6 separate regions of the Homo sapiens genome follow, and all the other regions are linked to region 6. Evidence: promoter capture Hi-C in 16 types of primary human blood cells and fetal thymus (Javierre and others, 2016). All regions are on one chromosome and are shown on one strand. The core of a region is centred on a gene start or on the middle of the fragment in contact, and the rest is flanking DNA. Distances in the headings are between cores, read along the strand shown. Region 1 overlaps LOC105371812 (a long non-coding RNA gene). Region 2 overlaps SKAP1 (src kinase associated phosphoprotein 1). Region 3 holds the start of SKAP1 (src kinase associated phosphoprotein 1). Region 4 overlaps LOC101927166 (a long non-coding RNA gene). Region 5 holds the start of HOXB13 (homeobox B13). Region 6 holds the start of HOXB5 (homeobox B5).

Region 1 (4,292 bases), core at 738-3,237, 160 kb before region 6:
CTTCTTGGGGAGCCATTTGAAAGGGAAAGTCTGTGGCCTCTTTTCACCACCCTGCTTTCTCAAGCATAGGAGTCTTGTGACAATGATAATAAAATAGGACCCCATCCATCTGAGAAAGGGGAAGCAGCAGCAGCAGGAAGTCTCAGCCAGCATGATAAGCAGGAGCAGAATGCCAGCTGCCTTAGCAGCCATGCCAGGCGGGAGAGCAAACACCTAAATCCTGTTGGCAAAGCCAGCAAGACACCATCACGCTGTGGCCAAAGCAAACAGGAGCTGAGACAGGCCCACTGTAATGGATTCTCACTTCCTCCTGGATCTGGCAGAGGGTGAGACTAAGCCAGCTGAACCCACGTGACAGGGCATCAAGTAGCCATGGGGATGCTCATACCCATCCCTGGGCTGGGCCCAAGCTGGACCCTTGCCTTCTTTGCCACGGTCTCTTTTCTTTTCTTTTTTTCTCTTTTCCTTTCTTCCTCATTCTTTCTTTTTTTTTTTACGGGGTCTTGCTTTGTCACCCAGGCTGGAGTGCAGTGTCTAGATCATGGTTCACTGCAGCATTGACCTCCTGGGCTCAGTGATCCTCCCAACTCTCCCCACTGAGGAGCTGGGACTACAGGCATGCACCACCATGTCTGGCTAATTTTATTTTATTTTATTTTATTTTATTTTATTTTATTTTATTTTATTTTTAAGATATAGAGTCTCACTATGTTGCTGAGGCTGGTCTCAAACTCCTGGTCTCAAGGGATCTTCCTGCCTCAGCCTCCTAAAGCGCTAGTATTACAGGCATGATCCAAGCCACCTTGCCTGGCCCCACAGTCTCCTTTCAATTTGGTCCAGGCCAAGGAAAGGCTGATAATGAAAAACCATCGTCACATATATTATGTGGTTGATTCTTCACAGCAGTTCTGTGAGATCAATATTATCCTCATCTTATAGATGTGAACACTGAGGCTTGGGGATATCAAGGACACAGAGCCAGGCCTTAGTCTCAGGCCTCTGACTCAGTGTCTGCTGCCGATCTCATTTCCTCCACCCTTCCACCTCTCCACCCCAAACTCTCCATGTCAATTCCCACAGTCCCTTCATGGGCTGAGCTCCCACAGTCTAAATGGGACTTGAGTTCTTTTTTTTCCATTTCGTAGTTGAGAAGCAAAGACTCCAGAGTGGGGGTGGGGCTGGGGGTATTTTTTGTTTCTAAACCAGAAAACAGCTAGTTGACGTACTTGATTCTGTCTACCACACCCACCAACATGACTGGAGGTCCAGTGAGAAGTATATGTTTACAAATATTTTCAATCACTTTTCTATATCAGCAGCATCCCCCTCTGTTATTAAAACGTGAAAGATCTGAATCAAGACCTCTTGTTTTTAATGCCATAATTTGGTTGTGCTTGGACATAGCCTGAATAGACCCCCTTATGACCTGAAGCTTCTTGGTGTCTCTAGGGCCCAATGTACCATGGAAATTCATATCCCTCACCACCTAGTTTGGAAATTTATATTTATTAATGGAGAAATGCACAGTAGCTATATTCATATCTAAATGAAAGACTGGGCTTCTATTGAGAGAAGAAAAAGCGCTGTTGGATAGGACATTCCCTTCTGGTTCTCCATTTCCCAGCCGATTTGCTGATTATTGAAATGATTTCTCAATCGCTCTGTTGGAAGGGAAAGGACCGGAGAAGGAAAGAGGAACCGTTTATTGGGCTCAGAGCCAATTCACCGGTTCTTTCTTTTTTTTTTTTTTTTCCCCCTGGCCTTTTCATTTGCTCTGCTTCTAGGGACCCTAAAGGAAAATACCATTCAACAGAAGGGGCCGTGGAAACTGTAGGTAGATGGCGTGATTGGAATATCTCCTCCATTCCCCCATATCTGAAGTGGGTAGTTATAGGGCAGGTGGGGATTCTGCAGGAGAGAGCCAGGCCTGCGTGCGTGAGGCTGGCTTGGAGGTCCTGTTGGAGAAGGCGCGCTCGGGAAGGTTCTTCCTAGCGAATTTGCCTGAAATTGGAGATTAGGACGCCCAGAGAGGAAAACCATGCCCCGCCCACAGCCCAGTCCCGAGTTCTTGAGCCCCGAGCTCCTTGGCGGAAAAAGACCCCGGGTCGACGAGAAAAGTGCTTCCCCGACGCTGAGCCTTGCAGGCGGGGCTCACGCCCAGGCGCCGCCTACGCGCACCCTCCGCCGGAGGGCATCCCGGCTCCAGCGCAGAGCCCGAACCCGCACCGTGCCGCATGCAACGCAGGGCCAAAGGGCTTCGCTCCAGAGGGGTCGGAGAGAAATCCAGCAGAGGCTGGAAGAAGCAGGACCGGGGGTCTCAGTAGAAATGCTCAGGGCAGGGCTAGACCAGCCCGTTCCCTCTCGCTGTTCTGCTGGTTTTGCCCAAGCGGCTCCGGCTCTGAAGCCCCAAAGCCTCAGAGGTGAATTCGGTTCCAGAAGGAGCGTGGAATGGGGTTCCTCCGGTTCGGGCGTGTACGCGACATTGTTAACGTAGCGCGTATTATGTGCCAAGCACTGGGGCAAAGCGCTTTTACAAGCTTTATTATCCCCCAAACCACTTTATGAGGGGGATACGAGCCCCATTTACAGATGAGGAAACTGAACCCGAGAGAGTGTAAACCAGTATGTGTCCCAAGCAAGACTGGACGGGGCCGGTGACTCCACGGCCAAGCGAGATCTCTGTAGCCCTTCCCCGACCACAGTAGTTTGAACTTGAACTGCAGACACGGAATTCTAGTGTGGAGATCAGTGTGAAGCCACGGAGGGGAACAGCGCTTCGGGTTCCAGCGTGGTCACTTTCATTCCGTCACTGTTCCCATTAGGACTCCAGAGAAAGACTGGGAGGGAATGGTGGTTACGCCAATTTTACAGTGTAGGAAACAGGTTTATGTGCAGGTCATAGCTACTGCAGAGACAAGAGCCCATCCCGGGAAGGTCTTCTGATGTCCCAAACCCAGGAAGAGCTTTCAGCCAGGGCGTTCATCCTGAATTTTTCATGTGCCACGTAAATGGGGTGCTGAAACAGGCCCTGAGGAGTGTTGCTGCCACGGCACCTGGCCCTCCACAGAGCCCTTAGGTTTCCTGGTGTGGAGGACCACTGTGTGAACGACGAAAGGGAACTGAACTCTCCCTTCTTCCCTTCCTCCCTTCCTTCTTTGCTTCCTTCCTTCTGCTCACCGGCTGTGGAGAAGAGTGGGCTTGGGTGATTTTCCTGTGATTCACTTCCCAGTCATCCTAGTCACTCGGCTGAGACAGGGCAGAGGCCAAGTGTCCGAGGGTTTTTTTCTGGGACACGCGCAGTTTGGCCTTGGCAAAAATCCGAGAGGAAGATGAGGCAGGCGGGACATTATTTTGGTCACTAAGCACGGGGCTCTGCAGCGCTGGGCTCGCCACTGCATTGATTTAATTCCAGCATCAACTCTGCAGTTATTTTACCTATAAGGAGACTGTGTTCAGGGAGATGGAGACCGTTGCTTGGGCCTGAAGCTGCTGGGGAATGGGACTGGGGTCTAAGCCAGGTCTATGTAACCTCATAGCTTTGCCCTGCTCTGCCGGTGGCCCAAGAATGGAAATAAGAGTCAAAACAGCCTCCCTGCACACCAGCAACATTAAAAATGACAGCCACGAGATTCTTTCTTCTTTTTTTTATTTTCTTTTCGATGAGAGTCTCACTACATTGCCTAGGCTAGAACTCCTGGCCTCAATCGATGCTCCCACTTCCATCTACCAAAACGTCAGGATTACAGGCATAAGTAACCAAGCTCAGTCCAGTAACCATTTTCTTAAGGTTCAGTGACAAAGTCCCTCCCCAAGGAGTATGGATTTCCACTCTTGTGCTAGGGAAAGTTGAAGTATGTGCCTCTAACCCTTCACAGATGCCCACTTTCCCTTCAGAGAAACGTCCTTCAGGTGATTCTTAACAAACTGGAATCTGGAAGCTGTGCCCTCCAGCTTCCCCCGCCACCCAGCCCTTCCAGCTTCCCCGTCGTTTCCACAGTCGCATTCCCGAGGTCCGCGTGAGCCGTTCTTTAGCCAGACAGAAACTACGCCCCATGTGATTGATGCTTCTGCCTTGGCCTCAAGTAGGCAACGTGGCTGCCCGCTTGGAAGACCGCCCTGGTTTCCTGGCAGGAGAGAGGATTTCAGAGGTCTCCTCCACTCAGAATCCCTCCTTCCCCCTTCCCTCTCCCTGCCGCCCGCTCCTTTCTAGTCCCAACAGTTTCCAAAGCGCAGAGGATGTTTACCTGGACGGCCTGAGGTCACAAGCCTGATTCACCGCAGGCAGGCCCCCG
Region 2 (4,510 bases), core at 1,791-4,290, 250 kb after region 6:
AAAAAATCGAGACTTTACATATTGAATAAGCAAACATATATGTTTTCTCTGTTATTTGTTATTTTCTCACTTTTTTTAATGCTTAAACCATTTTCTGTCTTTTTAAATTTCTTTCTCATTTCTCTGGTAAAATTGTCATTATGGCCTGTTTTTGTCTCAAAATAGTATCTGCAAATTCAGGACTAAACGGATTTGCTGTGAACTAAAATAGTTACAAGGGGAACATCATCATGGTTCATTTTTCTCCCTGTTTTATTTGGAATTGAATTAGTAAATGAAGTTTTAGCAGTTTAATTCACTTCTCCATAAAGTTTATGGAGCAGCAACAGCTGGTTGAATCTGTGGCAGAAAAAGCCAACTTCTAGTGGCCAAGACTATTGTTTCAGAATTAAGGGGGAAAACTCATTAACTGTTAATGAAAACACAGGGAATAAAAACAAATAGCACAGAAACCCTAGGAAATAATTACCTTACACCTGACACAAAGCTGCTTTATCTTTCTGCTCCAACCCTCAGAAATTCACAACTTATCACTCTGTGGAGCATGAATGAAATTGAGTTTGACTCTCAGAAAAGAATAGAGAAATCATCCTGCTTATGGGCCCCTCAACATGTACTGGGTGGAGAACCTGCCATTGAATATACCAAGGAGTGTATCTAACGCCCAATTCTTATGACACTTAGGCTACAGGAGCAAATTACCTGCTAATAGCAGGTGAACCCTTGATATAGTTCCACTAGATCTTGTTTAGAAATACAAAGAGAAAGGACTGAAGGTAGTGGATGTGATTAATGGAGATATGATGTGTTAGAATATATATCTGTATAGAAATATATTGATTCTGAGGGAGTTGCAGTGGGAAAATGTGTCTCCAGTGGCAAGGGGTCTTGCTTGTGAGAAATCCACTCTAAGCAGATAGAGTTCTAAGCCCTAATTGTAGAGCTGCTGAGTGGAAATGTCTGTCACTATAGTTTGTGATCATTTATGTCTGATCCCACTGGACTACAGTTGTGGCCATTTAGAACTGCAATTGTCAGAGCTATAGACAAATCCAGAGAACACGTACAGTTATGTTTTAAAGAAAAATGATGTTCTTAAACAAATCCAAAATGACCACAATAATTGCTGTTCTTCTATAAAACTTTTCACCCATGCATCCTCAGTAGTTGTAATCATTTCAATTACATGGGAGTGTATATTTATATGGTATTATAGCCTTGTTTCTGTGTGTGCCCAAGGGAACTGGGTCACTTGATATGACACTAAAAACACTTATAACAACATCTCCATCATCAGGAACTAATTGCACTTGGGTGTAAAGCTTATTTCTAAATGTTCCCGCACCACAACCATTTGTACTACTGACCTAGGCTCTGTTTTGCTGCATTGAGTTGTATATCTATGTCGTTGTGTACTTTACAGAGGAACTGTCTCATGTTTGACACCAGGGGTGGCTGTTGAAAGCACACCTTGGGTGACTATACTCAGAAACCATAGGAATCACGTGGAAGTGACTTTTCCATCTGAAGTTAGGAAAGCAAGTGCCAAATCCAGGCAGGTGTTTTGGGTAAGACTTTAAAAACTGAGACTGTGAAGGCAATGTGATACCCTGGATTGGATCCCAAAACAGAAAAAGTACATTAATGGAAAACTTGTGAAATCCAAATAGAGTCTGTAGTTTAGTTAATAGCAATATACCAATGTTAATTTATTGGTTTTGGCAGATAGACCTCAATTATGTAAGAAGTTGACATTGGGGGAAACTGGGTGAAGGGTATGTAGGAACTCTGTACTATCTTTGCAACACTTACATAAATCTAAAATTATTCCAAAATAAAAAGTTCACTAAAAAAAAAAGCCCTTCCTGATCTGCATGTTTTTTAAAACACTTAGAATGTGAGCATGTACTTTTTTTCTTTCTTCTTTTCTTTCTTTTCTTTTTTTTTTTTTTTGAGGCAGGGCTCACTCTGTTGTCTAGGTTGGAGTGCAGTGGCACAGTCATGGCTCACTGCAGCTTTTACCTCCTTGGCTCAAACGATCCCCCCATGTCTCAGCCTCTCAAGTAGCTAGGACCACAGGCACAAGCCACCATGCCTGGCTAATTTTTCTACTTTTTGTAGAGATGGGGTATTGTCATGTTGCCCAGGCTGGTCTTGAACTCCTAGGCTCAAGCCATCCACCTGCCTTGGCCTCCCAAAGTGCTGGGATTATAGGTGTGAGCCACTGTGCCTGGCTAGGTTCTTTTTCTTTAATGGTGGATTTGCCACATTTTTGAAGCAAGCAGAGAACTTTAAGTCCAGAATAATAGTTTATACATAATGTTCAGTATATCCTACAAAAGTTAAATTTTGCTTGGCAATTCCAGTACTTTTTTTATTTTTAAGGATTTTTATTTGGCTTAAAATAAAAATTCCATTTAACCTTGCAGCTCACTTTCAGGTTACTAGCCAGGCAGTCCATTTAGATTGTGTTGATAATATAATTTTAGTGGACTTCCAGTGATGTAAAATTTGAGCATTTTAATCCTCAGTCCAGTATTTGAGAATTTTTCTGGTTACTATGGAAATTACACAGTGATGCTTTAAGCATAGCTATAAACTTTGTATACTGATAAGTAAACTAATAAAAGAGAGTATTTCTTCTGGCTTTGGCCAATGACTATTGTGTGAGTTTTCTACAATTTTTATTTCTCTTTTTCATAATAAACTTTATAGTTTATTTCTAAAGTCCTATATTTGTAGGTGTTCAACTCAGTTATGGACATCTACCTACCATACAGCATTTGAAGAAGAGTCTAGATATGATCATCTAATTTATGGAAAGAGAAAGCTACAGCCATTCTCTTTTTATCATTTTATAACCTCCCTGGCTTTCTAGTTTAATTGTAGGAAATAAACCTTTAAAGTGAGGCAATACAGATTCTATGTAGGTTGTTTGGTTTCACAGCTCCCTAGTTGAAATCCAAGGCCAAAACTCTACAGTATTTACTGAGATTAGCATTGGTGATTTCCTTTGGAAATTAGTATTTGAGATAATATTAAATTCAGTTGAAAATCCTATTTTCATGTTTGTGAAATGAAATAAGCAGCTGTCAGTGTCCTTTTATTAGCAGACTGTACCTCTATTTGGGGGATTTTAAGGAAAGCCATTTGCAATACAGAGCCTTTTCTTCCGGTTTCTGAATGAGCTAACATCTTCTGTCTGAACCTTTTAAAGTATCATAATAACATCAGTCACTTCTACAGAATACAATCCAATGTATATTGAAAACACACAAAAGAGATTAGCATTAATTGCATAATTCAGTATTGTATATACATTACCTTTTATCAAAGCCATTTTACAGGACAAATATTATCTTCTTAGGGCTTTTAGAATTCCTAAGAGGTCGGTTGCCTAGGCTGTAAACTAGAATTACAAAGAAAGAACTTTGTTAACGTTGCAGAACAAATAGGAATACAGTCCAGCAAAGTCTAGGTTTTCTCTATTTTTATAATACTTCTCTTACTTTTCAGAGAAAGACTATTGACCTTGCTATATTATATTATGTATAGAAGGTTAAACCTTTGGGTCAGTCCTATTTCATTTGAAATAGAGGCATGCAGGGTAAAGGTTGTAATTATTGGAGACATAGTATATATGAATATAAATTTAATTCTTTTTTTTTTTAGATGGAGTCTCGCTGTTGTCACCCAGGCCGGAGTGCAATGGTGCAATCTTGGCTCACTGCAACCTCTACCCCCCGGGTTCAAGCGATTCTCCTGCCCTAGCCTCCCAAGTAGCTGGGATTACAGGCGCCCACCACCACACCCTGCTAATTTTTGTATTTTTAGTGGAGAGAGGGTTTCACCATATTGGCCAGGCTGATCTTGAACTCCTGCCCTCAGGTGATCCGCCTGCCTGGGCCTCCCAAAGTGCTAGGATTACAGGCGTGACCCACCATGCCTGGCTGAATATAAATTTATATAGCTATGTTTTTATTTTAAGTATGATAGAGAAATTTCTTTCTGGTGGCAAGAGGTATTCCCACTATAAGCTAACAGTTCCTAAGTTTTAGTGAGAGAGTTACTTGAGTGGAAAATTTTTCATCCAGGTAAGTCAGTTCTTGAACCTATTTAACTGTTTCCTATATGTTAATGGATAGTGGCCATGTTCATCATCCAGTAAAAGATACACTTTTTTTTCGAATACTGGAAGAGATCATACATAGATCCTTTTATAAGGATGTATCCTTTTATAAGGATGCCCAAAGATTAACCTTATTTTCTGTCTTTTTTGTCCCTCAGGGGGAGACATTGGACAGGACAGCTCTGATGATAATCACAGCGGGACTCTTGGCCTGTCCCTCACATCCGATGCACCCTTTTTGTCAGATTATCAGGATGAGGGTGAGTGTTATCCTTCTGGATTTTGGGTGACTACCATACTTCATTATCTTCTGGCCTGACATCTTTGCCTTTTGTCATTTTTGTATCTAGCAGCCTTTGGTGGGTTTTCTGTACTGGTAAT
Region 3 (4,289 bases), core at 1,733-4,232, 160 kb after region 6:
AAAAAGGACAAGGCTTCAAAGGAATTTGTCCATTTAACAGAATGTCATTAGGAGTGGGGCTGACTGCTGAAACAGGGTCCTCAGATGATTAAGGAAGGGCTGCGTTCATGTGTGGAGGCAGATTTCTGTCTGCAATGAGGAACCTTGATGCAACATGACAATACCGTATTGGAATCTGCCAGTCACTCACTACATACTACCCGACTGTGCACCTCCCTCTACCCCTGTCTCTCTAAAACCCAGAGATTCTTGTAAGGAAGGATGCATATAGAATACGTACACTGTGAGTTTTTGGTGTAAGTAAGCTATGACAGGCAGTGAAGCCTGCAAAGAAGTGCAATTACCTGGGTTTACTGCTCTTTATCAAACAATTCATTAGCTGGTAGCTTATATTAGTATGTGACACCATATCCTTGAAGAAGAGGGGGAGGTTATCAAATTTTCTTCTGTTGCCAAGAAGGAAAGCAAGGCAAAGTTTAGGTTGACATATGGGGAGACTTTGCTGCCCTTGCTGTATTTTTTGTGTAACAGTTTAGATTTACCAAAAAAAAATTGAGATGATAGCACAGACAGTTCCCATGTATCTTTCCTTGCTTTTTAGTATGCCTCATAAGTACTTCAAAATGATTCTAGAGCAGCTACAATTTTATAGGTGAAGTGGTGAAGTTGGTAAAAATGCCATGGGGGTACCTGGTACTTGATCCCAAGCCTGAAAGGGGTAGTCTGCCCATTGCTATACTTTCTTTCTTTCTTTCTTTCTTTTTTTTGAGATGGAGTCTTGCCCTGTCACCCAGGCTAGAGTGCAATGGCCTGATCTCGGCTCACTGCAACCTCCGCCCCCCGGGTTCATGTGATTCTCCTGCCTCAGCCACCCGAGTAGCTGGGATTACAGGCGTGCACCACCATGCCCAGCTAATTTTTGTATTATTAGTAGAGACGGGGTTTCACTATATTGGTCAGGCTGACCTCAAACTCCTGACCTCGTGATCCGCCTGCCTTGGCCTCCCAAAGTGCTGGGATTATAGGCGTGAGCCACTGTGCCCAGCCACCCATTACTATACTTTCTCAGGGCAGGAAGGAGGATGAGCAGGAGCCAGATACCCCAGAGAGGCTCATGCCAGCCTCTGTCCCCTCACCCCAATTTACTGCAGCTTGTAGGTGGGTCATGTGACACTGAAACCAATGCACCACTGCTTTTCAGATGGCAGGATGCACTGTACTCCTTAAAGGATCACACCCTCATCTTTGAGGCTGTATCTCTGGATGGGAAACAGTACAAGGAGGCAGGCACTTTTATCACACTCATCCTTCTCGATGGTTTCTTCTTACTGCTCTTGCCCCGTCTGCTAGATTGAGTCCATCATTATTCCCCTTATGGCTGTTGTAAAAACCATTTTACCCACTTCCCCCTGTGTCTTTTCCCACCACTCCTAATCTTTTCTACATATTCTGTAGGTTGAGTCTGAGAATAGAAATGCCATTTTTTACAAAGAAGGAAAAAGGCAGAGGTGGAGATGTGTGAGGCCACATACCACCCCGGAGCTCTGGTTAGGTCATTCCCAATCTCAAAAATTGTCAATGGCTCCCCAGTGCCCTCTCAATTAAGTTCAACATTCCTATTCTGACTTTCAAGTCCCTTCACAGTAGAGCTGCAGTTTATCTTGACAACCATAGTCTTTCTACAACATCCAGTAAAAGAGGGCTACTAACTATTCCTCAAGCTGGTGAGGGCTCTTCCATCTTTCTTTACTCTGGTCCTTCCACCTGGAAAGTCCTCTGCCCCTTCAAAGTCTGGTGTGTTTTTCAGAGCCCATCTCAAACACCACATGCACCTTTAAACACTCACATGCACACTGGCACTTCTTTTTATTTTCTTTCTTTTTTAAGAGACAGGGTCTTGCTCTGTTGCCCAGGCTGGGGTACACTGGGGTGATCATAGTTGGCTGTAACCTCAGATTCCTGGGCTCAAGTGATCCTCCTGCTTCAGCCTCCCAAAGTGCTGTGATTACAGGTGTGAGCCACAATGCCTGGCCTCTTCCCTCCTTTTCTGGTATTCAGCTCCCTTCTTTTATCAACCATAGCACTTTATACTTTTTTCATGGCAGTTGACCTATTGTACTTAAAAAACCTCTTTATTTTGAGAATTATAGATTCACAGAGAGTTTCAGAAATAATAGAGGAACTCTGTCTACCTTTACCCAGTTTCCCCCAAGGGTAACATCTGGCACTATTACAGTACCATGTCACAACCAGGACACTGACACCAACTGTCCCTTGAATGAGACCGTGTGATTTTGTCCTTCACTTTCCTCCCTTCCGCAGCTCCTGGAGGGAAAGGGCTCTGTTCTCCTCTCCCTCAGCTTTCTCCCTGTGTTACCCCTTCCTTTCCTCAGGGCCTTTCCATCCTGAGGGAGAACAGCACAGTTTGGTTTCCTGTGTCCCTTGCTGCCACGCTGCCGCGATTCTCCCAAATGTTGGTGTCCTTATATTGCTTATTGGGAATTAATCATTTCCTTTCAACATTGTGGCTTCCCAAAGAGCGAAGTTTTGCCCTCTTTTCTGGGGATGGAGATGTGAACTGGACCGGCAATTGAGGGGTGCTATGCTTGACGGGGATCTCTTCCTTGGATTCTGCCTCCCTGCACCCTACTTCAGGCACCCCGTGGTCTTTCAAATCTGCCACCGTGAGGTCAACTGTTCGGTGCTTAGGATGGAGTGTCCAAAGCCGTGGGTCCTTTGAGCCTTGTGAAGTCTTTTGTTTTGGTGGGTGCTGGAGGGGCGCACCTTTGGCCTCGCACGGTGCGGTGCTTCCGGCACCCCCAATCCTTCTACCGTGGGGCTCCGGCGTGAGCGCCACGTGCACCCACGCCCCGCGCCCCGTTCCGGTCCCCGCCTGCCGCCCGCGCCACTTCCTGACGCGCCCGGGGACCCACGGCCCCGCCCCGCGGCCGGGCTGGGCGGGCGGCGACCGCGGCTGAGGTACAGGTGCCTCGCGGTGCAGCCGGGTCGCCTTCCAGCCCGTCCGCCTCCCGACCAGGGCCCGCGCCCCGTCCCGCCTCTCTCCCGCCCAGCCAAATGCAGGCCGCCGCCCTCCCTGAGGAGATCCGTTGGCTCCTGGAAGGTAACGCCCTGGCGCAGGCCCCCTCCAGTGCTGAGCCGAAGGCCGAAAGGGGACACCAGGCCTCCCACGGCCAGGCTTTCTTTACGGCTTCGTCACTCACCTCCTTCTAGAACCTTAAGGCTTCTAGAGCCCTCAACTCCCTAGAGCCAGCTTTCCATCCTCTCACCTCAGGGCCCCTTTCACTCCCTGGAGTCCCACATCTTCTTTTGCCTTGAGGCACCTCCACGCCTCCACTTCACCTCCCCGGCTTCTAAAGTCCTCAGGCCAGGTTCTTGGTCCCCCATGCCACCTTGCCTGGTCTCCGACCTGTCCCTTTCTCCAAAGGACTGCCCTACATCTGTAGGGTTTCCCGTCCCCCTCCTTCCCCAGCCACGACTTCCTCACCTCTCACAGAAGACCCCAAACCTTCCTGCTTAGAGGTCCCCGAGGCTCTCCAGGGGGCTGCGAGGGGCTCATGGGATCCCCATGGGCCAAGGCCAGGTGGTTGACGTGAGTTTTTGTCAGTGCGAAAACCCCAGCCCTCCCTTTATCACCCTGCAGACGTCTAGGGGTCTCACCCACCCCAAGGCAGGCTCATTCTCAGTATGGGATTTCCTCCTTTTCTAGAAGTGCCCCCATTGTGGTGTGTTCACCTTCCAACTCCCATTGTGGTGTGTTCACCTTCCAACTACAGTGTCTAAGCGGTGGTTTAAAGAGTTCCGGCCATCCCCGTCAACACTCAACACACACTGCCAACACTCCAAAGAGATGTCACAAAGAGACGTTGCTAACGGGCAGTTTCATCTGCTGGGTTTCGTGGTGGAAGTCACTTTTACTTGCTTTCCTGTAACTAACCTTCCAGGGAGGACAGAGGCCTGGAATCTGCAGTCGCATAAGGCTCCCAGGAGGAAACTATTCAGAATTAAGCCTTTTGGCATCTAAGTTGACATAGTTGACACATATTTAACAGACGGCCTGCTTTGGGCAGGTCATATTTTTGGCAAGCAGTATTTTTTTTCAGTTTCTCTCAATTTAATTGGTTTTATATCTCCATTACCTTGTTATCTCGGTATAAATGCCTCCTAATCAAATATTTGGCAAGTCCTTTTGGTCTCTGTCTGTAGCACTATTTCCATTCTGGATTGCTTCTATGTAAAAGCTGTCAGCTAGATATTTCTTTTGAGGTGAG
Region 4 (4,518 bases), core at 596-3,095, 130 kb after region 6:
CAATTTTTTTTTGGCCAGGCACAGTGGCTCACGCCTGTAATCCCAGCACTTTGGGAGGTTGAAAAGGGTGGATCACCTGAAGCCAGGAGTTTGAGACCAGCCTGGCCAACATGGTGAAACCCTGTCTCTACTGAATTTTTTTTTTTTTTTTTTTTTTTTGGGACTGCTACATGCCAGAGTTTGCTGAGTACTGGAGGATAAAGTTGTGAATATGACAAACATTGTTCCTGCCTTTATGGAAACACTTTCTAATGGGGGAGACAGACAAATAAAAAGAAAGAAAATAGGCAAATAAAATAATTGCAAATTGCTAGGAAATAAATAATTTATAAACTGCTAGGAAAGAAAGATAAGAGAAAATAAGGCAGTTCTATGACTTTTTTTTTTCCTCAAGGCTGAATCTTGCTGTTACCCAGGCTGTAGTGCAATAGTGCGATCTTGGCTCACTGCAACCTCTGCCTCCTGGGCTCAAGAGATTCTCCTGCCTCAGTCTCCCAAGTAGCTGGGATTACAGGTGTGCACCACCACACCTGGCTAATTTTTTGTAGTTTTAGTAGAGACAGGGTTTCACTATGTTGGCCAGGCTGGTCTCAAACTCCTGACCTCATGATCTGCCTGCCTCGGCCTCCCAAAGTGCTGGGATTACAGGTGTGAGCCACCACACCTGGCTCAGTTCTATAATATTTTAATTAGGCTTCCAAACTCTCATCTCTCCCATTGCTACTTTTCTGGTTCCTGAAGACGATCACTTCTTAAGGACCCACCTTCTAATAGCTCCAATAAGGAAAACCATAGATGATACTTTGTAAATGCAAATAATTCCCTGAATGCACCTCTATTTTATTCATCTAAATATATAGTAAACAATTCAAGCTAGATTTGGACATTTAGAATCAAAGATGTAATCTAGTGATCCCTCATTTGGACCACAAATGAGATAGATCTTTACATTAATGTATGACGGATTTAGGTTAGACACAATGAAGAACTTTGCAGCAAAAGTTCAGTGGAACAGGTACCTGAGGGAGTGTATCAGTCAACTTTACTAAAATAATGCTGCATAACAACTAATCTAAAATCTCAGAAATTTATAACATTTATTTTTTGCTCACAGGTTTGTGGATTGGCTGCAGTGATTCTGTTCAGGTTGTGAATCTTGTTCAGGTCTGCTCCATGTAACTTCTCATTCTGGGACTCAGGCCGAAGTGACAAGGGCATGCTCTTCTCGTGGCAAAGGGTAGAGGTGCAAGAGACCAAGCTTAACCAAGCAAGTAGAGTTAAAGCCTCTGTTTACATTCCATTGGCTAAAACAAGTCACATGGCTAGACCCATCATCAATGGAGTGGGGAAGTTTGCTCCCCCAACGGAGGGAAATAGAGAAGAATGAATGTTTGCTGAGCAATAATACACTCCACCACAGGGAGGTTATGGAGTTTCCTTCACAAGTGGTCTTTACAAATAGAAGAGGTTGTTATCTCTCTGGGTTCCTCTGGGTACCATATTACCTGAAGTATAGCAAAGGAAGACCAGAAGACATGATTTCTTAAAGATGCCTGTTTTGGTACAAGGGCAATGTAATTTGTGTTTGATATCTGGTTGCCACTGAATCCCCTTTTCCTTTTCCACCAGAGCTGTGCCATGGGGGTGATTTCCAGGCCAAGTCTTAATATCAGAGTCTCTGCATGATTGTATACAAGTGACAGTCACACAGCAAACATAAATACAGATGGCTCTGATACCATCGGGGAACAGTATTCCTGCCATCGGGCCAGTTTTGTCTGCTGCTACAGTGCAGTTAACTCTGGAATGAAATTGGAAAACTAACTGATGGTCAGAGAGGACTGGAAAGATTTTCATTTGTAACTGAGACAGGCAGGGCTCAGCAAAAGGTGATGCAAGAGCAGATTTTACCATAGGCTCAGTAAATCCAGCTAACAAACATGCATGCATTGTATTGAATCACTTAAGGATCTAAATATTTGAATGTATTCAAATGGAAAGACGTGATTGTGCACTCACACCCTCAGCAGTTTTTGACTCCAAGGCTTCATATTCTGTACCCTTTGCACCCTTGGTGATAACCTTTCCTTCTTCTACCTCAGTGTGCTCATTCTCCCTCTTCTCCCTCCCCAATATCTGTTATCAGGAACTCCTTAGGTCCTACTGAAAGTATAGTCCCCAGACCAGCAGTAGCTGGTCTCAGGTGCATCACCTGAGAGCCTGTTAGAAATGCAAATTTTGGGGTGCATTCCCCAGACTTGCTGAATCAGAATCTCTGGGTTTGAGGTGGGGAACAGTTGTCTCAGGAAATTGTGTTTTCATAAGCTCTTCAGATGAGAAGTTAAGCACATACACAGAAGTTTGAGAACTAGGGCAATTCTGACTCAGTAGGTCTGGGTGAAAGCCATGACCTGCGTTTCTAACAAGCTTGCAGATGATACTGATGCTGCTGTCTGTGGACCACACTTTGAGTAGCGCTGCTTTAGAACTCAATTACATACACATGAAATGATGGCCAACAGTTAAAAGCCTTACTGGTCCTAAGTGGATAGGATCAAAGTCTTAGTGAATAAAATGAGCCACTAATGGTGGAATTTTACGCAACAGCCACCAGGTTTTTTTTAAAGTATGTTTTGAGCCGGGCATGGTGGTTCACACCTGTAATCCCAGAACTTTGGGAGGTCGAGGCAGGCGGATCACTAAAGGCCAGGAGTTTGAGACCAGCCTGGCCAACATGGCGAAACCCCATCTCTACTAAAAATACAAAAATTAACTGGGTGTGGTAGAGTGTGCCTGTAATCCCTGCTACTCAGGAGGCTGAGGCAGAAGAATTGCTTGAAGCCAGAGGTGGAGGTTGCAGTGAGCCGAGATTGCGTCACTGTACTCCAGCCTGGGCAACAGAGCAAAACCCTGTCTCAAAAAAAAAAAAAAAAAAAAAGGAAATGTATATTTTGGTCAGAGGGTGGGCCTGGAGCCTCTGAAGCCACACTGTGTGTGATTACCTTCCATCCCACATACAGAATCCATCCTGTCAATGGATGATTAAAGAATGAATGTAGCACGGGGGGAAAGCACTGGGCTGGGAGTGAGGAAATCTGGGTTCCAGTTCTTGCGCTGTCACTGAGATTGTGCACGTGGTTGGGTCCCTTACCTCTCTCATACTCATCTATATAACTGAAAAAATGAACTGATGAGAGATACACAATCTCCAGCATCCCTGCCCCACTGTGCCCACTTTTTCGCCTTGGTTTTTCAAAAATGTTTGTGGGTAAATAGTAGGTGTATACACTTATGAGGCACATGAGATATTTTGGTACAGGCATGCAATGTGTAAGAATTATATCATGGAAAATGGGTATCCATCCCCTCAAGCATTTATCCTTTGTGTTACAAACAATACAATTATACTCTTAGTTGTTTCAAAATGTACAATTAAAGTATTATTGACCATAGTCCCCCTGTTGTACTATCAAATATTAGGTCCTATTCGTTTTTTCTATTTTTTTTTTTTTTGTGCCCATTAACCACCCTACCTCCCCCTCAGGCCCCCCACTACCCAGCCTCTGGTAACCATCCTTCCACTATCTCCAGGAGTTCAATTGTTTTCTTAGATCCCACAAATAAGTGAGAATATGCGATGTTTGTCATTTTCCATCTCTTTAAAAATTATACAAGGTTATGATTACCTTAGCAAAGATTTCCTTTCCAGACGAGTAAGCGAGTCTCAAAAAATGGTAAACCAAAGCTGCAGAATTGAGGGCCCATAGAGTTGAATGCTGTGAACCATGAGTAGAGTTGCGCCCGACTCTAACCATCCCACCACACCCGCCTTAGTGCCTACTCAGGGTCGGGGTCTCCACTTCCCACTTCCTAACTGGGTGACTTGGGGCAAATTACTCTCTCTCCTGGAACTGTGGTTTTCTATTCCATAAAATGAAGATGAAAATAACACCTACCTAATAGGGTTGTTGTGAGGTTTAAAATCATTAATACATGTCAAGTGCTCAGGACAGTGTCTGGCACGAGAAGAGCATTCGATAAATGTCAGGGACTATTATTACTCCAGGAGGAGGAGGGGCCGCCCTCATCAGCCCCCGCCACAGACTGTTGAAATCTCAAGCCCAAGCTGCAGGTCTTCCTCTGTCCTGTAGGTGGCGCCTCCCCGCGTTGAGCGTGCCACCTGCGTCCTGGAGCGCTTCGAGAAAGCGGAAAGAAGTAAGTTTTCACATCTCTGCTCAGTTCAGGATTGCTAGAGAGGAATCTTCTGCAGTCACCTGAAGCCTGTGCCCAGGACAACCAGGTTTTGGGATCCGATTTCCTTCCTGGAGTGGCTTTAAATCCATTTCTCGCTGCACCCCACCCCCATCACCTGGGCGCCTCCCCTGCACCTGCAACCCAGAAAGACTCCTCCGAGGATTGCACTCCCAGCACCTGAGGTAGGCAGTTGAGTGGGAGTTTCTTTGCTGCTCGGTTAAAATGACAAGTTGGTACACGAGTGCTTAATGAAAGATGCTGGAA
Region 5 (4,021 bases), core at 1,087-3,586, 130 kb before region 6:
GTGATCCACCTGCCTTGGCCTCCCAAAGTGCTGGGATTACAGACCTGAGCCACTGTGCCTGGCCCCAGGCTAGTCTTGAACACCGGGGCTCAAGCGATCTTCCCACCTCCACTAGGATTAGTAGCTAGGATTACAGGCGTGCGCTGCCATGGGTGGCTTTGAGCAACTACAGATAAAGCTGCTGTGGACCTACTAGTACATGACTTTTGATGGATATAAAGGTTCATTTCTGTTGGGTTTATGCCCAGGAATGGAATTGCTGGGTCATAGGGCATGACTATGACTATTATTATTTTTTAAATTTAGGGATCTATTAATGCCTCTACTGTACAAGGATGAATAAATGTGCATGTGTGGGTGTTTGCCTAGTGGAAACTAAAACTGTGGACATGCCCTACATATCTATCATCTACCAAGTAAAAATTGGTGAAAAATTCTTAGTCTTTAGGTAAAAGTCTGGATATTTCTGCAGTTCATAATTAGACAAGCAAGAAACTCTGGTGAGAAACTGGAAAGCACTGAAGAGACATCTCCTCCCTTTTCTTCCATATTGTTTTCAAATGCGATCTAGTGAAGATTTCGTGCTTGGTGTCTTCAATTATAGCAATGCTCATTAGGAGTGATGTACACTACTGCCTGTGGGCCCTTTCCCACAAAGTGGCTCAAGTTCAAGGTCAGGTTGGTGAGAGGCTATGATTGAGTCTGCCCAGAGTTTAGGGTAAGCCATTCCATATAATTGTCAAGACCCTCGTGTAGAATGGAAACATTCCTGTCTTCTCCAGAAAAACTGGGAGTTCTAGAAAAAGCAGACAGAAGGATTTGATTTGGGAGGGGTAGTAAAGGAAGCGGAAAACCTCTAAAGACAGATTTGTGAAACAAACCGTTTGATTCTTCTGAATTGCACTGCACATTAGGCCCCAACAGAGGGGCCTCAAGCAATTCTGCCAGTGGCTGGGGTTTCCCCTTCCATTCCCTTTTCCTTGTAAGGAAGTTTAAAGCTTGCAGGAGGCAGATAGGGGTCTTGGGCTTTCTGGGTACTCAGCTTGTGTGGGAGTATGCCAGTATCAGGGACAGTTTCCTGGGCCCCTTGCAGACCATAGGGAGAGGACTGCAGGGCAGGGAGACTGGCATCTCCACACAGGCGTCTGTATTCTTGGGGTCCAGAACTCCCGCAGCTGGTTTCTGGCAGTCAGCCAGGCTTGGCTTCCTCAGACTTCTTTAGATCCCAAAAAAGGGGGAAAGTGCCTCTCTTCTTTCTCTTTTCTGACTGACACTTCAGGATTTTACAAGATTTTGTCCCATCCGCTCTGTCAGCTTCTCTCTTTCCCTCTTTGTGTTGCTGTCCCTGAGTCTCATCTCTCCCTCTCCCCGTCCCTCCCTCAAGTCCTGTGGGTCTCCGTCCCTCCGTATGTCTTTACTTAAAGGGAAATCCAGACCCTTCCACAGGCCACTCTAGAGGCTCCATTTCCCCTTCAGGTCCGGAAGTGGAGTGTCCTGGGTTCCATCCAGATCGCATGTCTTCTACGTCTACGTTCGTGTCTCCCGCCTCTTCCCTCAGCCTCACCCGAATCAGGGCCTCCAGAGCATTCTGGGCAGTAGCGAGTCCCTGGGTAAGGGGCGTCCAGGGCACCTCCCTGGGGCCCGGAGCAGCTCATTCCAGGACATCTGGGACAGGAAGGGTACCGGGAATGAACTGGGGTGCTAGTACCCAGGACCCAAAGCCAGGGGCTGCCAGAAATACCTATTAACCCCCATTTCCCAGCCTCCTCTTACACAGGCGCATTCCCGGGTTCTCCTCTGAGGCCGGGAGCGGCCTCCCAGCCCCACCCCCGACTCCCCTTCCCCCCCAGGAGATGGACACTTTATAGAGAGAGCTTTTTATTCTCTCGTTAAACCTGTCAAAGCGCAGGAGACAGAAAGCTAGGGAGGGAGAGGAGGAGAAGGAGGTGGGGCCCGGCTCCTCGTCCCCTCTTCCTCCGCCCACCACGCCTCCCCTCCCCCCGGACGTGTAAATGAGACTCTGCAAACTGGAAAGCAGCGAAAGGACACCTCCTTCCTTTTCTCTCTTGTTGTTTTTAAGTGGAATGAGAGAGAGAGGAGTGGAGAGGGAAAAGAAGAGAGAGAGGGAGAAGAGAGAGAGGAGAGAAAGAGCGAGAGAGCGAGAGAGAGAGACAGAGACAGAGAGAGAGAGAGAGAGAGAGAGAGAGAGAAAGAGAGAGAGAGAGAGAGAGAATAAGCTGGGGTAAAGTATTTTCGCAGTTTCTGCCTTTAGGATTTTATTAGCTTCTCTCCCCCAGGCCGCAGCCAATCAGCGCGCGTGCCCGGGCCCCTGCGTCTCTTGCGTCAAGACGGCCGTGCTGAGCGAATGCAGGCGACTTGCGAGCTGGGAGCGATTTAAAACGCTTTGGATTCCCCCGGCCTGGGTGGGGAGAGCGAGCTGGGTGCCCCCTAGATTCCCCGCCCCCGCACCTCATGAGCCGACCCTCGGCTCCATGGAGCCCGGCAATTATGCCACCTTGGATGGAGCCAAGGATATCGAAGGCTTGCTGGGAGCGGGAGGGGGGCGGAATCTGGTCGCCCACTCCCCTCTGACCAGCCACCCAGCGGCGCCTACGCTGATGCCTGCTGTCAACTATGCCCCCTTGGATCTGCCAGGCTCGGCGGAGCCGCCAAAGCAATGCCACCCATGCCCTGGGGTGCCCCAGGGGACGTCCCCAGCTCCCGTGCCTTATGGTTACTTTGGAGGCGGGTACTACTCCTGCCGAGTGTCCCGGAGCTCGCTGAAACCCTGTGCCCAGGCAGCCACCCTGGCCGCGTACCCCGCGGAGACTCCCACGGCCGGGGAAGAGTACCCCAGCCGCCCCACTGAGTTTGCCTTCTATCCGGGATATCCGGGAACCTACCAGCCTATGGCCAGTTACCTGGACGTGTCTGTGGTGCAGACTCTGGGTGCTCCTGGAGAACCGCGACATGACTCCCTGTTGCCTGTGGACAGTTACCAGTCTTGGGCTCTCGCTGGTGGCTGGAACAGCCAGATGTGTTGCCAGGGAGAACAGAACCCACCAGGTCCCTTTTGGAAGGCAGCATTTGCAGGTACCTCTATTACCCTGGGTCCCCTTGTCTCTGAGCCTGGGGTTGTGGGTCCCAATGGCATTTCCCTGGGAGGAGGAGGAGGGAGACTTGGAGCTGGTGAGGATGAGCTTGGTGCTCCTCCCTTGGTTATTAGGACTCTGAAGGAGGTCTGAGTAGCTGGAGGGCCTGGATGGAGGTCAGTGTGAGGGGCCTGAGCTGGGTGCTATCTGAAGCCTGAAGGCCACCTCACTTCTCCAGGAGGCCCTGGGACCAGCCTTTCAACATGTCTGAGAGGTTTAGATCTCTTTGCTGTTGAGTGGGGATCAGGGTGTCCCTACCCAGCACAATTCCAAACTAATTCTACACAAAAGCTAAATAACTCTCAATTCGGTGCGTGGGGAGTGGGTGTGGGAGATGGGTAAAAAGGTATTGGATGTACTGTAGAGAATACAACCTCTCACTTTCTATTAGATGAGTTTTCCAATTTCCAAAGAAAAATTTAGGTTTCCTGCAGCCGTGACATATGTGTGTGCACTGGGATGGGTTAATGTGTGTGTGTGTGTGTGTATGCGCATGTATTGGGAGTGGGGGCAGAAACGTGTTTCCAGAATTTGCCTGTAGAATCTAAAAGAGTGGCCAAGAGTCTGGAAATGCATGAAGACTGGACGTATGTGATGGTGGGCAAAGGCCTGACTGTGTGTGGTGTGTGGGTATGTTTGCAGATTCGCGGGTGTGAGAGCAGTGATGGGTGAGGGTGGCCTTCAGGAGCCAAGGCTGAGCGGTGGTGAGAGAACAAGCCGGAAGCCAGGGTGCTGTCCTGGTATGCTTTGGAGGAACAGGATTGCACGTGCGCCTGTAGGGTGACCTGTGTGCACCTGTGAGATGACTTAGCTTGGGGCTTGCAAGGCCTGGGTCTGCATGGGTGGGTATCTGACCATGCCTTTTCCTC
Region 6 (4,517 bases), core at 2,018-4,517:
TTACGGATTAACGGCCTGGATTTATCATTGGGTTGGGGGGATGACGGGGGGTGGGAACAAGATGGATGGAAAGGGAGGGAAAGACAAGATGCAACTAGGAAGAGACACACCTGACCAGCCCCTCCCCCCAGGCTCAGGTGGGAGTTCAAACTGCTCCTCCCCTCCCCCATCTAGAGTCTAGACAGACGGCACAGGCCTAGGAGACTAGGAGGGAATCTGGAGGGGGCGCTGGAGGAGTGCGAAACGGGGGAAGGGAGCCGGCAGAATAGAGGGCATCCCGGTACTGGCTGGAGTCTGTGTTCGAGGGTCGACTAGGGGAGGGGGTCCTGGGCCCGGTGACCGCAGGCCTCAGCATCTCCACTCTGCGTAACAGGTTCCTCCTTTGGGCCCAGCGGCCGGCGAGGCCGCCAGACATACACACGTTACCAGACGCTGGAGCTGGAGAAGGAGTTTCACTACAATCGCTACCTGACGCGGCGGCGGCGCATCGAGATCGCGCACGCCCTGTGCCTGACGGAGAGGCAGATCAAGATATGGTTCCAGAACCGACGCATGAAGTGGAAAAAGGAGAGCAAACTGCTCAGCGCGTCTCAGCTCAGTGCCGAGGAGGAGGAAGAAAAACAGGCCGAGTGAAGGTGCTGGAAAGGGAGGGAGGACGCGAGGGGAAAGGCCTGTGGGGAGCCGAGGGCGTCAGAGAGACCCGGGAAGGAAGGCTCTCGGGTGGGGGAGCCAGGAGACCTGCTCTCCGGCGCAGACAGGCGGGGCCCAGCGCTCTCCTGGACGCCCCCGCCCGCACAGCTCCCGGCGGGTGCTCTGAGGCCTCACTACTCGAGCCCACCCAGCATCCCGCGCGCCCTTCCTTCCCGAGGAACTCGCCTCAGCCTGATCAGGCTTCCTGGTGAGAACTGAGGAGCGGACTCACTTGATGTTTCCTGGAAGCAGAGCAAAATGCTCTTGTCCCTGTCGCGTCTCATTTTGTCCATGTCCCCCGTGCACGGTTCAATGGTAGATTCGCTGTCCCCTCAGCGGGGGCCTTGAAGACTCCCTGATCCCAGACCTGTCGTCTCTCCCACCCCCTCCCCAAAGCCACTGGAAGGAGCACATACTACCTAGAAGTAAGAAGAGGAGCCTCAGAAGAAAACAAAGTTCTATTTTATTAATTTTCTATGTGTTGTGTTTGTAGTCTTGTCTTAGCTCTGGACGTGAAATACTTCGATGATGATGATGATGATGATGATGATAATAATAATAATAATAACAACAACAACAACAATAATAAAGATGTGAAAACTCGACGCTCGGTCACCTCCAATCCTCCCCTGCCATTTTTTCCTCTCTCCTCAACCCCCAGCCTCTCCATCTTTCCTGAGCCAGAATTCTTCAGCAAAGGCGAGAGCCCTGGCCCGCCGAAGCGAGCCCTGTTCGACTGGGAAGTTACAGCTGAGATAAAGGCTGGAGCGATCAGTCCTGCCCAGGCCCCAGCGCTGCGTTTCCCTGGTGCTGAGGCTCACAGCCGCTTCTCCCCGTGCAGACTTGGGGGATGGAGAGGTGCTGTGTCCCTCTCATTCTCTAGCCTTTCCTCGTGTATACACAGCACTAAGGGAGCCACTGAGGCCCCTAAAGCTCTCTGGCGGAGACGGAGCCATAGTCTGGGGGCCTCTGCAGCGCTTTTCTGTCCTCACCTTCGCAGCGACCCCTGGTCTTTGGCCCGTCCACATGGCCAGGTTTTTTCGCCAGCCTTGGCCCTCCGCTCCTGGCCTGTGGCTCTGGAGACTGAAAAATGGGGCCACTGGGTATCTCTCACCCTGCAGCTGAAGGCTCCAGGTGCCCCTTCCCACCTCAAGTAGCAGATCAGCCTCAAGTAGGAGATCAGCCTCAAGTAGGGGAATGTAAAGCCACCAGCCAGGCACAGGCCGAAGGCCACAACTTTCCCTTGCTCCTTGGAGACCCCAGGGCAGGAGGCCAGGTGATGGGGCTTTTAGTGTCATCCTCTCAACCCAGAATGGCTCATTCTCTCTCTGCTTGCACCGGCACCCAGAAGGCAAGCTGCGGTCACTGTTTTCCTTTATTCCTCCGCCCTCTCGCTTCCTTTCTTATTTTTAAAGAAAATAGTCCCCTCCTAATAGGAGACCAGCTGCGGCGGTCTCTGGCCGCCCAGCGTGCTCAGCAAAGCATGCGGGTCCTTGGAACCCCTTTTCCGGGAAGGCGGCTGCCACCAGGCAAATTCTCAAACTGCCTAGCTGCGAGTGAGGGACCTGTAGTGGGGCCTCCGAATGCAATAGCCGAGGAGGAGGGGAAGGGATCCCGCTTTACAAACTCTCAGACACATGTTACTACTCAAACTAAGCAGCAGACGCGGTGGCCGCTGCAGTCTTTTCGGCAACTAGGCCGCTTAGCCCCAGCTGTGCTCGGTTTCTGGGGTCCCTGTCCTGCTCTGTCACTCCCCACGCCTGGGCTAAGGACCACCAAGGAGGTCCGGAAGGGGATTTCGAACTTCCAAGTGGCCCAGGAGAAGTGAACGCTTCTCCTTCTTTTTCAAGCCTCCCGCCCAGCCCTGCCGGCTCGGCCTGGGCGCTGTGGACCGGTAACAGCAGTTCCACCAGGATGCAGGCCGGACTAAGCTCCTGGGGAAAACCCGTTGCAATAATTGTTTTTCACACACAACTTCCAACCCTTCCCCCATTTCCGCCTCCAATTCGGAGACTTGCAAAGCCCAAGAAAGGGAAAAGCAACTCTATCTTTGATCTTCTCATCCAAAGTTAAAATAATAACGACAATGATGATGTAGGGAGAAAGAACCAAATAGAGAGGCTAACCCCACCCACAAGAAAGTGGGTAAAAAGCCCAACCCCTGCTCTAAAAGGCTCAACCCTGTGGCTGAGCCTTGGCCGGGTTTCTTTCTCTCCCGGCGACTGCAGGGAGCCTGCAGGGAGCCAGCAGGGAGGCAGCCGCCCGCCGCCATGGCGGTCTCACGCCCGCGCTCCCGTCGGTCGCCGGGAGGTGGCGCGCTCTGCTCAGAGGCCAAAGCCAACCTTCTCTCTGTTTCTCCCCCTTCTCCTTTTTTCCCCCTCTCTCGGAGGCTCGCATTGAATCGGCCCTAACGATTCTCGGATCGTCATTATTTGTAACCATAGAGCATGAATTACCTCTTGAGGTCATCAGCGAGAATTTACGACTGGTCAACAAAAGCACGTGATTCCCTAACGCCCCCCACCCCCCTTCCAACCCCCCCCCCATATTTGGCCGCATACATAGCAAAACGAAGTACAGTGCATCGCTATAATTCATTAATACATCATAAATCGTGAAGCACAGGGTTATAACGACCACGATCCACAAATCAAGCCCTCCAAAATCACCCAAATGAGCTCGTACTTTGTAAACTCCTTCTCGGGGCGTTATCCAAATGGCCCGGACTATCAGTTGCTAAATTATGGCAGTGGCAGCTCTCTGAGCGGCTCTTACAGGGATCCCGCTGCCATGCACACCGGCTCTTACGGCTACAATTACAATGGGATGGACCTCAGCGTCAACCGCTCCTCGGCCTCCTCCAGCCACTTTGGGGCGGTGGGCGAGAGCTCGCGCGCCTTCCCCGCGCCCGCCCAGGAGCCCCGCTTCAGGCAAGCGGCTTCGAGCTGCTCCCTGTCCTCGCCCGAGTCCCTGCCCTGCACCAACGGCGACAGCCACGGCGCCAAGCCCTCTGCTTCGTCCCCCTCCGACCAGGCGACCTCAGCCAGCTCCAGCGCCAATTTCACCGAAATAGACGAGGCCAGCGCGTCCTCGGAGCCTGAGGAAGCGGCAAGCCAGCTAAGCAGCCCCAGCCTAGCTCGGGCGCAGCCAGAGCCCATGGCCACCTCCACAGCCGCGCCCGAGGGGCAGACTCCGCAAATATTCCCCTGGATGAGGAAGCTTCACATCAGCCATGGTAATTCTCTCTCTCTTTTTTGTCTTCTCGGCTTTCCTTCTCTGCGTTTTGGGGTGGGATCGGGGGGACAAGGAGAGCTTGGCTTTACCCTAAATATAGATTCATTTTTCTAAGGGGGAGAAGTATCTAAGAGGGGCCTCATAGCTTCGTAGACAGAGCCAAAAAGGGTCTCTCTGTTAAGAGGGGGGTATTTTTAATAATTTGTTTCCAGCTTCGGCTTAGGTTTTTATTAGCGCAGCTGAACCAGCTTTAGGATAAAGGATGGGGTTCATATAATGTGGGGAAGGGTCCTGCTTACCCCTGAAATTTTGAGACTGTCGCTAGCAAAGAAGGGGTGAACAGTAAAAGGAGCTTTCCGGGGCAAAAGTGCAACCGCTCTCCTCCCTCCCGGGGCGAGCGGCCGCCTGAGCCCAGCCAAGGGTGAGGCACTAGGAGCGAGCAAGAGACAAAGCCGGGCGCACTGGCTGCCTGCAGAAGTGGGGGATGCAGTAGAAAGGGGTGCAGAAATCGAGCTTGAATGTGGGCATCTGGAGTAGAGAGGATTGGAGCTGTGGTGAGCTGGGTGCCGGGACGCCTGGGTCCTGCTCCCCCG

Evidence for each region. Contacts are between HindIII fragments. The CHiCAGO score rates a contact against its expected background, and 5 or more counts as called.
Region 1: a fragment that was not itself captured here is called in contact with the fragment with the promoter of HOXB5 in region 6 in 2 of 17 cell types (total B cells and naive B cells); the score reaches 8.9 in total B cells.
Region 2: a fragment that was not itself captured here is called in contact with the fragment with the promoter of HOXB5 in region 6 in 15 of 17 cell types (activated CD4 T cells, total CD8 T cells, megakaryocytes and 12 more); the score reaches 24.7 in activated CD4 T cells.
Region 3: the fragment with the promoter of SKAP1 here is called in contact with the fragment with the promoter of HOXB5 in region 6 in 7 of 17 cell types (erythroblasts, megakaryocytes, activated CD4 T cells and 4 more); the score reaches 10.1 in erythroblasts.
Region 4: a fragment that was not itself captured here is called in contact with the fragment with the promoter of HOXB5 in region 6 in 2 of 17 cell types (activated CD4 T cells and naive CD4 T cells); the score reaches 7.1 in activated CD4 T cells.
Region 5: the fragment with the promoter of HOXB13 here is called in contact with the fragment with the promoter of HOXB5 in region 6 in 2 of 17 cell types (naive B cells and total B cells); the score reaches 18.1 in naive B cells.

What each region holds. Positions count from the first base shown.
Region 1 is chr17:48,752,947-48,757,238 of GRCh38, reverse strand. It overlaps LOC105371812 (a long non-coding RNA gene), which reads right to left. Exons shown (of 2, transcript XR_007065830.1): 2 at 2,525-4,124. Among named protein-coding and RNA genes, the nearest start is that of HOXB13, 26 kb to the right of the region's middle. RefSeq lists enhancers at 2,663-3,652, 3,705-4,292. The HindIII fragment of the contact is 1,105 bases long and covers 1,435-2,539 here.
Region 2 is chr17:48,345,784-48,350,293 of GRCh38, reverse strand. SKAP1 (src kinase associated phosphoprotein 1) reads left to right here. Exons shown (of 13, transcript NM_003726.4): 4 at 4,288-4,389. Among named protein-coding and RNA genes, the nearest start is that of SKAP1-AS2, 54 kb to the right of the region's middle. The HindIII fragment of the contact is 3,432 bases long and covers 1,325-4,510 here.
Region 3 is chr17:48,428,907-48,433,195 of GRCh38, reverse strand. SKAP1 (src kinase associated phosphoprotein 1) reads left to right here and starts at 2,982. Exons shown (of 13, transcript NM_003726.4): 1 at 2,982-3,121. The coding sequence starts at 3,076. RefSeq lists a silencer at 2,809-3,068. The HindIII fragment of the contact is 9,425 bases long and covers 1-4,289 here.
Region 4 is chr17:48,457,071-48,461,588 of GRCh38, reverse strand. All of the region lies in intron 5 of LOC101927166 (a long non-coding RNA gene), which reads right to left. Among named protein-coding and RNA genes, the nearest start is that of SKAP1, 29 kb to the right of the region's middle. The HindIII fragment of the contact is 1,169 bases long and covers 1,261-2,429 here.
Region 5 is chr17:48,727,065-48,731,085 of GRCh38, reverse strand. It overlaps HOXB13 (homeobox B13), which reads left to right and starts at 2,336. Exons shown (of 2, transcript NM_006361.6): 1 at 2,336-3,093. The coding sequence starts at 2,493. The HindIII fragment of the contact is 3,706 bases long and covers 1,001-4,021 here.
Region 6 is chr17:48,592,529-48,597,045 of GRCh38, reverse strand. HOXB5 (homeobox B5) reads left to right here and starts at 3,267. Exons shown (of 2, transcript NM_002147.4): 1 at 3,267-3,925. The coding sequence starts at 3,364. The region is part of intron 1 of HOXB-AS3 (HOXB cluster antisense RNA 3); the gene reads right to left. HOXB6 (homeobox B6) reads left to right here. Exons shown (of 4, transcript NM_018952.5): 4 at 374-1,295. The coding sequence ends at 633. RefSeq lists enhancers at 383-552, 610-1,281, 2,324-2,829, 3,059-3,128, 2,830-3,337 and a silencer at 3,594-3,643. The HindIII fragment of the contact is 5,828 bases long and covers 1-3,911 here.